2 separate regions of the Homo sapiens genome follow, and region 2 is linked to region 1. Evidence: promoter capture Hi-C in human tissues and cell types (Jung and others, 2019). All regions are on one chromosome and are shown on one strand. The core of a region is centred on a gene start or on the middle of the fragment in contact, and the rest is flanking DNA. Distances in the headings are between cores, read along the strand shown.

What was found. The method cuts DNA at HindIII sites, captures the fragments that hold promoters and counts their contacts. A contact is called where the count stands out against the background at its distance.
Region 2: a contact is called between a fragment that was not itself captured here and the fragment with the promoter of NKX2-2 in region 1, in 2 of the 25 tissues and cell types used here (neural progenitor cells and spleen).

What each region holds. Positions count from the first base shown.
Region 1 is chr20:21,509,973-21,516,874 of GRCh38, forward strand. NKX2-2 (NK2 homeobox 2) reads right to left here and starts at 4,092. Exons shown (of 2, transcript NM_002509.4): 1 at 3,439-4,092; 2 at 1,045-2,513. The coding sequence starts at 3,697. The coding sequence ends at 1,951. RefSeq lists an enhancer at 5,789-6,289. The HindIII fragment of the contact is 15,862 bases long and covers 1-6,902 here.
Region 2 is chr20:21,465,971-21,472,382 of GRCh38, forward strand. No RefSeq gene overlaps it. Among named protein-coding and RNA genes, the nearest start is that of NKX2-2, 45 kb to the right of the region's middle. The HindIII fragment of the contact is 3,826 bases long and covers 2,713-6,412 here.

The DNA of each region.
Region 1 (6,902 bases), core at 2,842-5,341:
TTCCTCCAGCAACAAGGGTGGGACGGAATCCGTTCCCCGCCGGAAAGATGGATGCGCCCTTCCCGGGCGTGCCCGGGGCTGTGTGCCCACTTCCCATCCGGGGAGCTCACCCCACCCCCAAACCTCTACTTCCTAGCAATCCACCCAGTTCCACGCTCAAGGGCTGACCTGGGGGGACCGCACACCCTGGTTCGGACCGCCGAACGCTGGAGGGAAGGAGGCCCGGGATCCAGTCCCCGGAGAGAGGCCTGGAAGCCCGGAAAGGATGGGAGCGTAAGGGAAGGGAGAGGCATGGTTTGCTGGGATTGCCAAAGATTCTCGCTCCCTGGCTTCCTGGGGCCAAAGATCCTAGGGAGGGCTGCAGTATCCCCTCCCTCCCCCGAGCCCAGAACCCCGCGTACTTCCCCCAAGCCCCCTAAGCCAAAGCCTCGCGCGCCCTGACCGTTCCCACCCCCAGCCTTAGCGGTCTCCTAGGTCAGCACCAGCCCGCAGATTTTGAAAAGGAGTGGGGAGTGGGGAGAAGGCAGCCAGTCTTAACCTCAGACCCCCACCCACCCACTTTCTTAGCGTGAGGTAAGTCAAATGTAACAAAGTGAAAGTCATCGAGTGTAGTGGCTTCAACAGCTTCTCAGGCTGAAGGAGCCACTCATAGATTTGGGCCAGCGAGGGGGGTTTGCTCTCCTCGCCTTTGCGGCTCCCGAAGTCACTTTTCCTCCCGTAGCCGGACGCTGCCGCCCGGGGTTCAGACAGCGCGCGAGACCAGGGGAGATGCGGGGGAGGGTGGGCGGCCCTGGGCTTCCGGCCGACCGCTCGCAGGCCGGAGGCCGAGCGTTCTCCTCCCCGCCCCAATCCTAGGCGCGGGGTGCAGCCTGTGGTCGGAGGGGCCTGCACCGGGAGCCCCGCCCGCCCCAGGGCCCCGGTACCCCCGGCCTCCCCGCCCGAGAGGAACCGCCTGTGGGAGCCCCGCGGGCGGCCGGGCCCGGCTCCCAGGCCCAGGCCTCCGGCCCGGCGCAGTAGGACAAACGGGAGGGCAGGGATTTTTTCTTTTTTTCTTTTTTAAACACAGGATTTTTATTAAAATTCTTATTTAAAAAATCGAAAGCTTTCTGCGCCCGGCGCTGTTGGGGAACCGCGCCGAATAGCTGAGCTCCAAGTTCGGGGCTGAAGGCCCGGAGGACAGGGCAGAGGGCTCCCTGCCTACAGGGTTTTCTTTTCCATATTTGAGAAATGTTTGCACAATAAAATAAAAAGAGAAAGGAAGAAAGCAGGGGAAAACGCAAAAACAAAAACAAAACAAAAAACAAACCCAAACAAGCCACAAAGAAAGGAGTTGGACCCAGACGGGAAACAGGCCGGTCCTGAAGGTCATTTTGGCAACAATCACCACCGATATTTACAACGAAAAGCGAAATCTGCCACCAGTTGTCAGAACGTTTACATGGCCATAAATATTTAGCATTTTCTTATTTTTTTTTAAAAAAAGGAAGAAATTCTCTGTATTTTTAAAGTGTTCTCCACTTGCTTTAGAAGACGGCTGACAATATCGCTACTCACACAAACATATTTTACAAAATGCACGAAAGCAGGGGTGGGGGGTCGGTCTTTTTCTCGTTTTCAAGTGACGACATTAACGCTGGGACGGTTTGGTCCCCCCGGGGAGAGGCAAAGAAGCGAAGCTGCGCAAACATTCTGTAAACACGGCGTAGAGTTCAGCCCTCTCCCAAGGTTCAGAAGGAGAGGCATGGGCAGAGCTGGGTGGGTGGAATCTGCCACTCCAAGGAGACGCAGGCAACCTCCCGGCGCCTCCCTAGTGGAGCCGAGAGTCAACTCGACTCCATAATAATAATTATAATAATAATAATAACCACCATAAGGACCGAGGCCTCCTCGCCGCCACCGCCGCCGGGGTGGGGCCTGGGCCTGGGGCCGCGAGTCTCGTTGGGGCGGCGCTCACCAAGTCCACTGCTGGGCCTGGACCAGGGGGTGTGCTGTCGGGTACTGGGGGGTGCTGGCCGAGCTGTACTGGGCGTTGTACTGCATGTGCTGCAGCGACTGCGCGCTGTAGGCAGAAAAGGGAATGCCCGCCTGGAAGGTGGCGGCTGCCAGGTCCTGGGCTTTGAGCGCGTGACATGGTTTGCCGTCCCTGACCAAGACGGGCACGGCCACCCGGCGCGGCGAGGGCAGGGGCGTCACCTCCATACCTTTCTCGGCCCGGGCGCGCTTCATCTTGTAGCGGTGGTTCTGGAACCAGATCTTGACCTGCGTGGGCGTGAGGCGGATGAGGCTGGCCAGGTGTTCGCGCTCGGGCGCCGACAGGTACCGCTGCTGCCGAAAGCGCCGCTCCAGCTCGTAGGTCTGCGCCTTGGAGAAAAGCACTCGCCGCTTTCGCTTCTTGCCGGCGTCCCCCCCGCCGCCCGGGGTCTCCTTGTCATTGTCCGGTGACTCGTCGGCCGAGGGCTCCGGGGACTTGGAGCTTGAGTCCTGAGGGGGCGCCCCGGCAGCCAGACCGTGCACTGGGGGGAGGGGGAGAGAGAAGCGCGTCAGGCGTCTGGAGGCCGCGCGCAGCCTGCACCAGACTCGGAGCACCCTGGATCCTCCGTGCGACCCTGGACCTCCGCGCCTGGCAGCCCAGCCCCGCTGCCTTTGCCATGACCCCTGCCTTCCTCTACGCCTGACGAAGACGTCGGGACCTCCCAGGGTAAAGAGGGAAATCCGTAGGAGTGGGGGCTAGGGGCTCGCCTTTCAAGGGGCTCACATAGTGTGGGTGAGAATTTGGGGGGGGAAGTGGCACTGAAGATCATCGCGGGTTAAGGGCTCCGGCGCCCTTAAGCGGTTTCCTCTCCGGCGAGACGTGGGCAGATTTTTAAAAGAAATACCCCACAATCCCAGCATTGATCGGCTCGGCCATTTAAGGCAGGTTTTTGGGGGCTTTCGTTTCTGCTTTCGGGCCTTCTAGACACCCCCTGCACTGCACAAAGCGTCCTCTATGATCGCGCAGGGGGCAGGGTGAGCTATTTATACCCGGGCCACCCGAAGCCTCCCCACCCTCCACCCGTACCCGGACGAGGCTCGCTGGCTACCTCCAGGGCGCCAGGCCAGTCCCTCCCAGCGGCCGGAGTCCGGGGGCTGCGGCTGGAGCCATCGGTCCGGGTTGACATCATATACCAGCCCCTGGGAGGTATAGCCCTTCTCCCTCTTTCTCCTTAACTTCTCGCATTGAAAAAAATTTTGGAGACCAAGTTCTTTCCCGGAACTAAGGAGGCTTGAAGAGGAGGGCAGAGGACATCCTATACAGGTGTTAAAAATCTTTCTACGGATCCGAGTGAGGGGGTCCGGGCTTACATGGCCCCTTCCCCTTTCACTCCCAGCGTCCAACCCGGGCTGCGGCTGCAGGAATGGAGGGGACCACGGCCTCGGCAGCCAAGTTTTGCTACTTACGGGAGTACTGAAGGCCCTCGGTGCTGGCCAGCCAGCGCGTGTACGGGTTGTCGCTGCTGTCGTAGAAGGGGTTCTTCAGGGGCAGGCTCTGCACCGCGTCCAGGGCGCCCTGCCCCAGCGGCCCGGCCCTCTTGGCTGGCTCGGGCCCCTCGTTCTCTTCCTCCGGACCTTCGGCCACAGAGCCCTCCTCATCGTTGGTGTCCGGCAGGTCTAAGATGTCCTTGACCGAAAACCCCGTCTTTGTGTTGGTCAGCGACATGGTTCGAGACCCCAAAATTTATGTCGCAAAGTTGTAGCTTCACTTGGTCAATTCGTGGCGCTCCCCTGCCCCGGCGGGCGGGGGAGGGGGGAGTTGGGGGGAGGGACTGGGGGAGGGGAGGGGGGAATTGGCTTTAATTATTGGGATAATTATTATTTTTAAAAAGAGAAAGAAACTGGGGATGGGGAGGAAAAAAATGAAGCCCAACCCAGTGCCTCTCTCTGTCTTCTTTGAAAGCACGCGGAAATGGACGCAGGAAGCCGGGCGGCCTGCGCGCCGAGCGCCGCGGGCCCCGGCCTTAGTTTCTAACTCCAGGAGGGGTGCCAAGGCGGCGTCAGCTCGGGCTCCGGCGGCCGCTCGGCGCGCGGTGGCGGCTGGTGGCGAGGAAAAAATGGGCCATTGCCCGAGCGATCAGTCCATATAAGGCTGGGCTCCACTCACGAACCTGGGGAGGCGGGGAGAGGGGGAGAAAGAGAGGGAGGGAGGGAAAGAAAGAGGGAGGGAGGGGGAGCGAGAGAGGGAGCGGGAGAAGGGTGGAAAAAAGGGGGAAGAGACATTAAAAACGCAAAGGTTGGCCACGTGTGGGCGGGTCTTGGGAGTCAAGTGGATGAAGACAGTATTTGCAGATGTGAAATTGTGGGTTTTGGGGAGCTCCGCGCTCCCAGCCAACGGCCCTCTAGAGCAAGATGAGAGGTGTAACGTGTCAATTAATTGCAAAGACGGGGCGAGCCTTTTTTTTTTTAAACCCAGTATTTACATACAAAGGGCCACCGCGTCGCTCGCGAGTCCACACACTTGAAAGGGCCGTTTTAACAAATTGCATCTTAAAAAAGGTGGGGGTGGGGAGGAGGAGGGGAGAAAACAAAACAGAAACCAGGAGGAGGGAAAAAATCCTCTTTAACATTCACCGGTTCCTACCTCCCCGCCCCCGCGCGCCCACCCCCGGCAAGCCGGAAAATTGGCGATTTGTGGCGCCTTTGGAAAAGGGGGAGGGGGCGAAGGCCGAGCTGCGGAAATCTCTCCTTTCCATCGTTGGTGGTTGCCTAAACAAGATCCGGTTCAAATGGCAAGAGCCCAACTTCTGTAAGCCTCCTAGGTCAATATTTTGGTTGAGGCTTAAGGATGAGTGCTAGAAATGACAAGGCAAGTAATTGATTCCAGTTAACCGCGAGAGAGCCCAAAACCCAGGAGAGAGCTCCGCTCCGGGCCGGCCAGAGCCACCACCAAGCGACCCGCCCCCTTCCAGCCGCCCTTTATTTGCTAAAGACTCATTTATTTCCTTCACTCCGCCTCCCCCCACCTCCCACCCCCAACCCCCCGCCTCCACCTCTCTGCGGCCAAGGAGGACGCGCAGTTCACTTTCTGCTTTGCGGGCGGTCCCGGGGAGGGCGGGGTAAGAGTGAGGAGCTCCAACTTCGTCTGGGGTCGGACCCTGGCCCTGCTGCCTCTGGGCTCTGCGGGCCTCTTTCCCCGGGTGGAGGAAAGGGCAGACGGCCCTGCTCTTTCCTGCCCTCTATTATCCCTCCCTCTCCGGCCCCCTCCCTCTCCAGCCTCTGGCTAGAGGTGGAGCAGCGGGAAGGCGGCGGGGCGGGATTGCGGGGGTGGGGGTGGGGGTTGTGTCTCCAGCCTGGGTGAAGACCCAGAAAGCTGCGGGGGAGGGGGGTCGCTGGGTGGCCCGACGATGCCTCGTTTTCTCCCCAGTTTTCTTCTCCCACGCGAGTTCTTTAGTGTGGTCTCTTTTTGGACGCCTTGGGTGCGTTCGGAGTACGCGCTCCACGTTTCCAGGTTAAGTCAGGTTAGTGTGAAGTTTCCAGCCACTCTCGGCTCTGGGAACTGAACTTTCCCGGGACTTGCACTTCCTCCTCGGCGCTGGGGTTGGAAAAGACCACGCCGCATTTGCCACCCCTTCTTCTAGTTAAAACTTTTTTGGGGGGGGGGTGCAGGGGTGTAGATTGGCTACCTGATGCTCGTTCGCCCCAGAGGAGTGTCAGGAAGGAGCTTTGTCTGGGGGCGGGGAGGGGCACAGAAGGCCACCCCTGCGGGGTCCAGGTCTAGTCTTCCCACAACCTGGGCTCCTCCGCGCGGGCCAAGCTGAGCGCGCGGGCACCGGGTCCTCCTCGCGCGCAGCTGCAGCGGACGCCGCCGCGCCCCAGCTGCCCCCGGGTTGCCAGCGCTGGGTGAGGGCACCTCTCCCCGAGCCGCTCGGCGGCTTTCTGCAGCCCTAGCTGCCTCGCCCCCAGTATGTGACGTGGGTGACAATGGCCCAGGTTAGAGCAAGCCCCTCGTCGGCGCGTCCTGGGTGGTCGGACCCGGGCAAACACAAATACAAACCGATTGCTAAGCTGCGGACAATGAGCGAAATGTAGACAAATGTCCCGCTCCCGTTGGAAGCCTTTGTCCCGGCTCGGTTTTTGCATTTATTTCAGTGGCGAAATAATACATGATTGACGCTCTCTTTCAATGTGTCCTAACTGTTTGGAATAAATCTAAGGTTGTTCCTAGTTGTCATGGCATTCAACCCTTTTCAATGGACTATCTCTTCATTCATTTCTGAATCCGTCCACAATATTAAGGAAACCCCTTCATGTCGACGCTCCCCGATTCCTCTTTCTCCTCCTACTTTTTCTTTTCTCCTTTCTCCCCCTCCTTCCCCCCTTTTTTCCCCTGGAAGAATTAGAAACTTGTTTGAATCGTCTTCCTCGAACCCATTACTTTTCGTGCTTTTTTTTTTTTTTTGCTCGCTTTCCGTCTCTGTCTTTCTCAGCGCCCCCCCTCCTCCGCCCTTTCACGTGGGAGCTCGTCGCTCTGCCCCGTCGGAGGAGGGAAGTTGGTTCTCCAGGAGTCGGGGAAGCGTCGAGTTTGGATCCAGGGGCGGGAGTGGGCCTGCCACTGCTATTGTTACTCAGCTGCTAAATAAATAACTGGAGAGAAAAAAAGTTCCTCAACCCAAGCGTTGCAGCAAAGACCCTCCTTTTGTTCCTCCTCTTATTCCTCAGTCCTAAGGGGGTGGAGGCTGTCTTGGGGTCCAGGGCAGCCACTAGGTTGGGGACCCAGAATAGGATCTGGTTGGGCCAGGCAAATTCTTGGGTCAGGTGGCAAAGGGGTCTTTGGCAGCAAGTGTCGTTTCTCGCATATCCCCAGAGCCCTCTTAGGTGGGGGAGTGCCCGCAGAGGCCTCCCAAAGCGTGTTCATTTCTTCAGCTGGG
Region 2 (6,412 bases), core at 3,376-5,875, 43 kb before region 1:
ATGCCACTGTGGAGATTTTTTTTCTGGGAGGATTCTGACTGTGTTTTCAACCACTCAGAGACCACAGCTGTTGAGTTCCACTTTCCCTTCCCTGTCCCCCAGTACTGGGCCCCTCACCCTGAGGTTGCTGCTCTCCCAGACCACATTCTCACATTGCCTGATTCTATGACCAAACCAGATGAGTCTACCAGATGAAAAATCACTTTGCCAGTGTCTGAATTTTCCTCTCCAGATCTTCCAGAAGTCTTGCTGAGGCCTCTGACCTTTGCATGAACACCTGGTGGCTTGTGAGAGACCCAAGGCATTCTGATGTGTAGCCCAGCTTGAGACTTAGAATCTGTTTTCTCCAGCCATTGATTCTAGGGCAACAAAGAAGTTCCTGCTCAACATTCCGTTTCATGTATGTAGAAAAATATGGACACATACACAAAATATACGTATTAATGTTTGAGGTTTTGGATTTAATAGCAATAGGAGTCCATAAGCAGGAGATGTCAGGAATGGCTTCAAGGAGGAGGTGAAGGGGAGTTTTGGAGGTTGAACAAAATTTAGATAAAGGAAGAGAAGGAAAGATGAAAGGCATTCACAAGCTTGACTCCCATCCAGCACCCTGTTAGATTTTCTTTATAATTTGCCACTGGAAACCTCCAGAAAAGTTATCAGATGAGTTTGTTTTAGAGTAAGTAAGCTGGAAAAAAAAGATAATATTGGAAAACTCAGACCATAGTTCAGTATCATTTCTGAGTGTTTGTGAGGGTAGCAAGTGTGCAGCCATAGGTAGACTAGACCCATGATGTCCCAAGACAGGGTTCCTCTGTTCTTAACTTGTGCTAAGGTAAACCAAGGATGACGTAAAATTTCTATTATTAGTACAGCCTGTATTTTTAATCTTCCTCATCACAATAAGCCAAAAGCCTTACCACACAGTTTGATGTGAAGATTTATTTTTTAGACCAGTGTGTGACTGAAGTAGCTGGGTGGGCAGTGGGTGGGGGTAAAGGTGACGGAGGATCATTGGAGAAGCTCCTATAGGGAGAGGAGACGAAGCTCAGGTTGGCAGAGCTGCTGAGGTACACCAGGCCTGGGTGCCCTCTGTGGCCTGAGGATCCCCTCCTCCCTGGAGCCTTCTTTTAGGATTCCATGATGTCAGCTACAGAAAACAGGAGTTCCCACAGCAGTGGAAGCACCCAGCCAATGACATCAGAATCTGTGGGGTGGACCCAGCATATGCTCTTTTCAAAGCCCTCTGGTTAATCCAATGTGCAGCTAAGGCTGAGAACATCCACTCTAAACATTTAGACCGTAGTTGCTCTGGGTCCTGACTGCAGATTCAAACCACATTTCTTGAAAAATTATCCTGTCTTTTAGGCCTATCTCCCAAGACTCTGCTATCGCATGGGGTGGGCCAACCCAGGCATTGGGAATTTAAAAAAACTCCCCAAAATGATTCTAATGAGCAACCAAGGTTGGGAGCCAATGTCCTAATTTTAAGAAAGCAGCTAACAACTAAAGCCAGAACCTCCCCTCCACACATCACCTAAGAGGTGGCAGAAATAGCTCAACAAACACTCCTACAAGCAGCCTAACTCTCATCTCTTCGTCAGGAGGACACTGGGAGGGGAGAGTGGGCCTTGGAGAAGGAAAAGGTTAGTAGGGTCAGGTTATCCCCTTCCTCTATATGGAGGGAGTGGGAGTGCTGAGGGGGTCACAGGGGGCTTCCATAGGACTCCAATAGAGAGAGGGCCTGCCAGAAGGGAGAACGATGACAGTTCTTAGCAAGGTAGTTCTCCCATGTCAGGGAACTTTAGGAGGTTCTGCTGCTGGATCTCCCCCAAATTATCCACATATCCCAGGAGAGATGATACATGGAGTCTGCCTTGTTGTGGGCTTCAGGGCCAGGCACTGTCAGCCAGGGCAGCAATGACTTCAGGGGAGAAAGAATGCCAGCTGCTGCCAGCTGAGGAATGAGACAAGTTTCTTCCTTCTCTCCTCATCCCAACATCATTTTCCAATCCTGTGTATTCCATTTCCCCACACTCCATGCAGTTGGGGTCTCTGCTGAAGCCCACAATGGGGACAGGAGGGAAGAAGATTTCAATGGAATTCTATGGACTGAATTTAATAACCAAAAGCAACTAGAGGAGAAATTCTCTGATAGGCCTAAGATGAGGACTAGAACAAGGGACCTGATGTGGCCAAACTGGAAGCAGAGGCTAGAGAAATAGCAGCCAGTTTCTGTCTATTGCCTGCTGAGTAGAGACCATTTACTGCATCAGTTACTCACATGTTGTGTCCCTCTACAAGATTCGAAGGTCTTTGAGGGCAGGAATACACCTGATGCTTTTGAAACAACCAAAAGCCAGGCCCGCACTGGGCATAGAGCAGAGGCAGGTTCTTCCCCACATCCTGGATAATCTTTTCATTCTGCTTGGTCTACTGGTGGCACAGAGGTTTTGTTTTAAACTAAGGCTTTCTCACCTCATTGTTGGGGGGGGGGATTAATTATAAAATAAAGGTACAGCTCAGGTAAATTGTTTTACACTACATGAGCAATATGGCATTGGCAACAATTTTAAAAAGTTTTTGGAAGGTTACATTTGACTTTGAAGCTGGATATCTGTAAGTTCACAGATATTCCCTGACCCCAGCTTGTGGTGCTCCTTGGCAGCCAGTGATAATGCCTGAGACCCGCATTTTATACTGGCCCTAAAATTCAAGCAGTTTTGGAGGTCTTTATTAATCTCTTAAGTCAACCAACCTCTCTCCACTTAGAATACTGGAAGGATTCCAAAGTGGAAAGGTATTTATTGAGTGTATATTGCAATGACTTACCCTGAAATCACTGTGTTGGGGAATTAATTTACATGAAACATTGCAGGTCATTTTATTGCTTCAGTTCTCCCATACTACCTTTGTTCCGAGAATCTGGAGGTTCCTTGGGAATAGGATGGAAAGACTTCTGCACCTTGGCCCCCTAAATCAAGAGGAGAAACAATCTTGCCATTTTAGTGTTAAAATGAGTGCTGATGCAAACATTTACCTTTTTATTTATACTGATAATCTAATGAATAATCTGAAAATATGGCCAGGGGAGGAGGATTGCCAGGAATGATAAACACATAGTAAAGTAGTTTGATATGCAGGAAACTGCTTCTAAAATACACTAGCTGGTGCTTACTGAGGGAAACAATTACTCTTCGGATACAACCTGCTTTCGTTCTATAGCCATCTTTTTCTTTCTATTTTTTTTTTTACAAAAATATTTATCTTAATGGTATATTTCCCTACAGACTTTTTTCATATTCATATTTTACAAGGATACAAATCATCTATGTTCAATTTTTCATTCCTTTTAAAAATTTAATATATAGCATAAATGTCTTCAAGTTATTATGTAGTATTCATATCTATAATTTTAATGCTAAAATTATTTTGTTAGGTAACTTATAATAATTTATTTAAATATAACCTAATATAAGAATTTGAGTTTGCCTCCAATTTTACTATTATAAAAATGCCATTTTTGCTATTATAAAATGTATTTTTATGATGTGCCTTTTTATTATTTTGAACTTCTTAAGAGCAGGTTCTCAGAAGTGAAGTTTTGGGGCACAATGTTTGAAATCATTTTAATTCTTGACAAAATTGCTGAATTTCTTTCCAAAATGACTATACCAATGTACAACTCTCCCATACACAACTTTCTTTTTACGGTCTTATGAAAGCCTTCTTTTATTTACTGAGAAAAAAGTAGAAGCCATTTGTGTTATCATAGCATGATAAACTCCCCAAAATCTCTCCAAAATGAAAATGAAATTCATGCATATTTTTAGAGAGGAGAAAAGTAGAGAAACATGGTGTTGGACTATCACAACTGTGTGTGTGTGTGTGTGTGTGTGTGTGTGTGGTGGGCTTTGTAAAGAATTGGGGCTTAATGTACCTAACAAACGACTAATCTTTTGCCTGAAAAATAGGCTGAGCTGACCAGATGGTGAGTGGAATGAAATCACTTTCCTACCATTATGGGCAAGATTTCTAACTCTTTGTCACCCACTCTGTTCTTCCTAGGCAGTAAGTCAATGGGGAGGCTTGCTTATAAACGACAGGAGGCAAAACCCCATCTCCACCCTAATTTCTCATCACTTGTTCAGTACCTATTCATTTAGACTTTTGTCTTTAATACGTGTATTTTCCCTTGGCAATACCATAATGTCTTTTTTTTGTCTCTTCACCATAATCATGATGAACAAAAATGTAATGCACATAGTATTCCTTCATTTGAGTCTTTCTTTTATTCTTTTAATTTCAAACTGCTGTTCTTCCTAAAGGAGGACTGTGTTACAAAAGAATGAAATTTTCCAGACAATGTTTGGTACATAATAGTTTTAAGAGGCTTCATGTTTGCAAGAGACAAATTAAGCAGCCTCCCCTAATATGTAGACAACATCTGTTACACAGTCACCATTAATGATAACACTGGGATCTCTTTTGTGGCTGATTTTCATCCAGCTGCACCTACCCATAAAAGGCGCCAGCAAAGAGGGCTACACATTTATCTGTCAGTTCAGAATGACTTTGGAAAATGGCACATAAACCTAAAGCAAATCTTTGTTAACCTCTGAAATCAGAGCCTCCATAAATCACTGCTAAGGACAGCTTATAACCTCCTCACAGCCAACTCATCATCTCCATTCAGTGTTTGATAAGATGCTCCAAATCTTAGGCTGGTTATACAGAAGAAAGCTACACATCAAGAAACTAAGCCTTATGTTTGGTGCCCACCTGTAAAGAAACACACATACCCATTGATCAATTACAAGTTTTTGCTCCAAAGCTTTATTTCAGACAACATTCCCACCTGCACCAATGGATCTCTTCCTAAGTAATAAAAACGCTACAAAATCCTTGGTAGGGCTAATTAGCTATGGCTAATCATTTGATTTGATGACTTGTTATTATTTGAAATTAAACATTAAGATTCTTAAATGAAAACCATTCAGAAAGCTAGGAGAGGGGTTCCACTTTCTTTGCAAGACTGAGCTGTATGAAATCTCTTTCTTACAATTTGGTTGTGAAATGTATTCTGGTATATTTTCATCTCTGGGTTTCCCTGTGGATATATATCTTATAGTGTAACATGTCAATTTACTCATTTAATACCTACTCAAGTGCCCTCTCTGTTTCAGTCCTGGTGCTAGATGCTGGAGATATGTGAAGGAAAAAATAAATCAAGTCTCTACGCTCAGGTACTTGTATCCACCACAGGCATAGAGAAAAAACAAATGGCTCAGATTATAAATAAAGCAAGAGTGATTGAGGGTTGGCATTTTAAATGTGATGTTCAGAGAAGGCCTTTATTTGTACAGAATCCTAAATAAAACAATGGAGATAGCAGTGTGAATTGGCAGGAAAAGAGCATCCCAGGCAGAGGGAACAGAATTGCTCAGGCCCCAAACTTGGCAAGTGCAAGAAACAGCACAGAAGCCTGTCTGGTTGGATGCTGATGCAAGACGGAAAGCAAGTTTGTGAAGGTGGGCAGGGGTCAGGCCTTGGAGGGCCTTGAAGGCCATAGTAAGGAGTACAGGTTCTACACTATGTGAAGGAATGCTTTAGGAGGTTCTTGAGCAGTGGACTATTGTCTGGCTTATATTCACTTTGGTACAACACCAAATTCAACTAAATGCAGTTTTCACGCTAGCTGAAAGATCTCTCTGAGCATAAATCATAATGTAACTCAGCTTCTCCACCTGTTAACAATGGGTTTATGTATTTCCAAGGTGTTCACAGATGGCTTTCAGAGAGTCCACAGAATGCTTGTAAAATGTATATTTTCGCATATATTTAAAAAATTCAGACCTCACAAAGGCTAAGAACCACTGATCTAGAGGACCCTAAATTCAGTTAGAGCTGTACTGTTCGAGGATTCTTTAGGTCTTCAACACACCTGGCACTCTTAGCAACTTTTTCAATGAAGGACCTAATTGTTCATTAACTCATTTTCTTTCTTTATTCTGAACCTATTTATGCCTAGTTTTCCATTATTGGAATGCTAAGCATGTGGGAGTTATTTATATTCTTCTGCTCAAGGTCATTGCCAAGGTCTGATTTTTCAAATTCAAAAAATTGCAACCTCAAACATAAACGGGTTAATCACATGTGTAGTTTCAAGTCTCTTTGTCCCATCTAGTAGATTACATTAAATTCTTCATCCCTTTCTGAATCTGTGTCCTTTGCCATGTAGCTTTGCAAAGAAGGGGTGTACTTTTGCACACCTGACTTGTTTTGGCTAGTGGGATATCAGCAGACAAGAAAGAAAGAGCTGGGACAACACTTGTGAAGTCTTTTTCTTTTGCCTCCATCATGATCATGAGAAGAACATGGCCAGGCTAACCAGCCAGTGCCAGGAGGATGA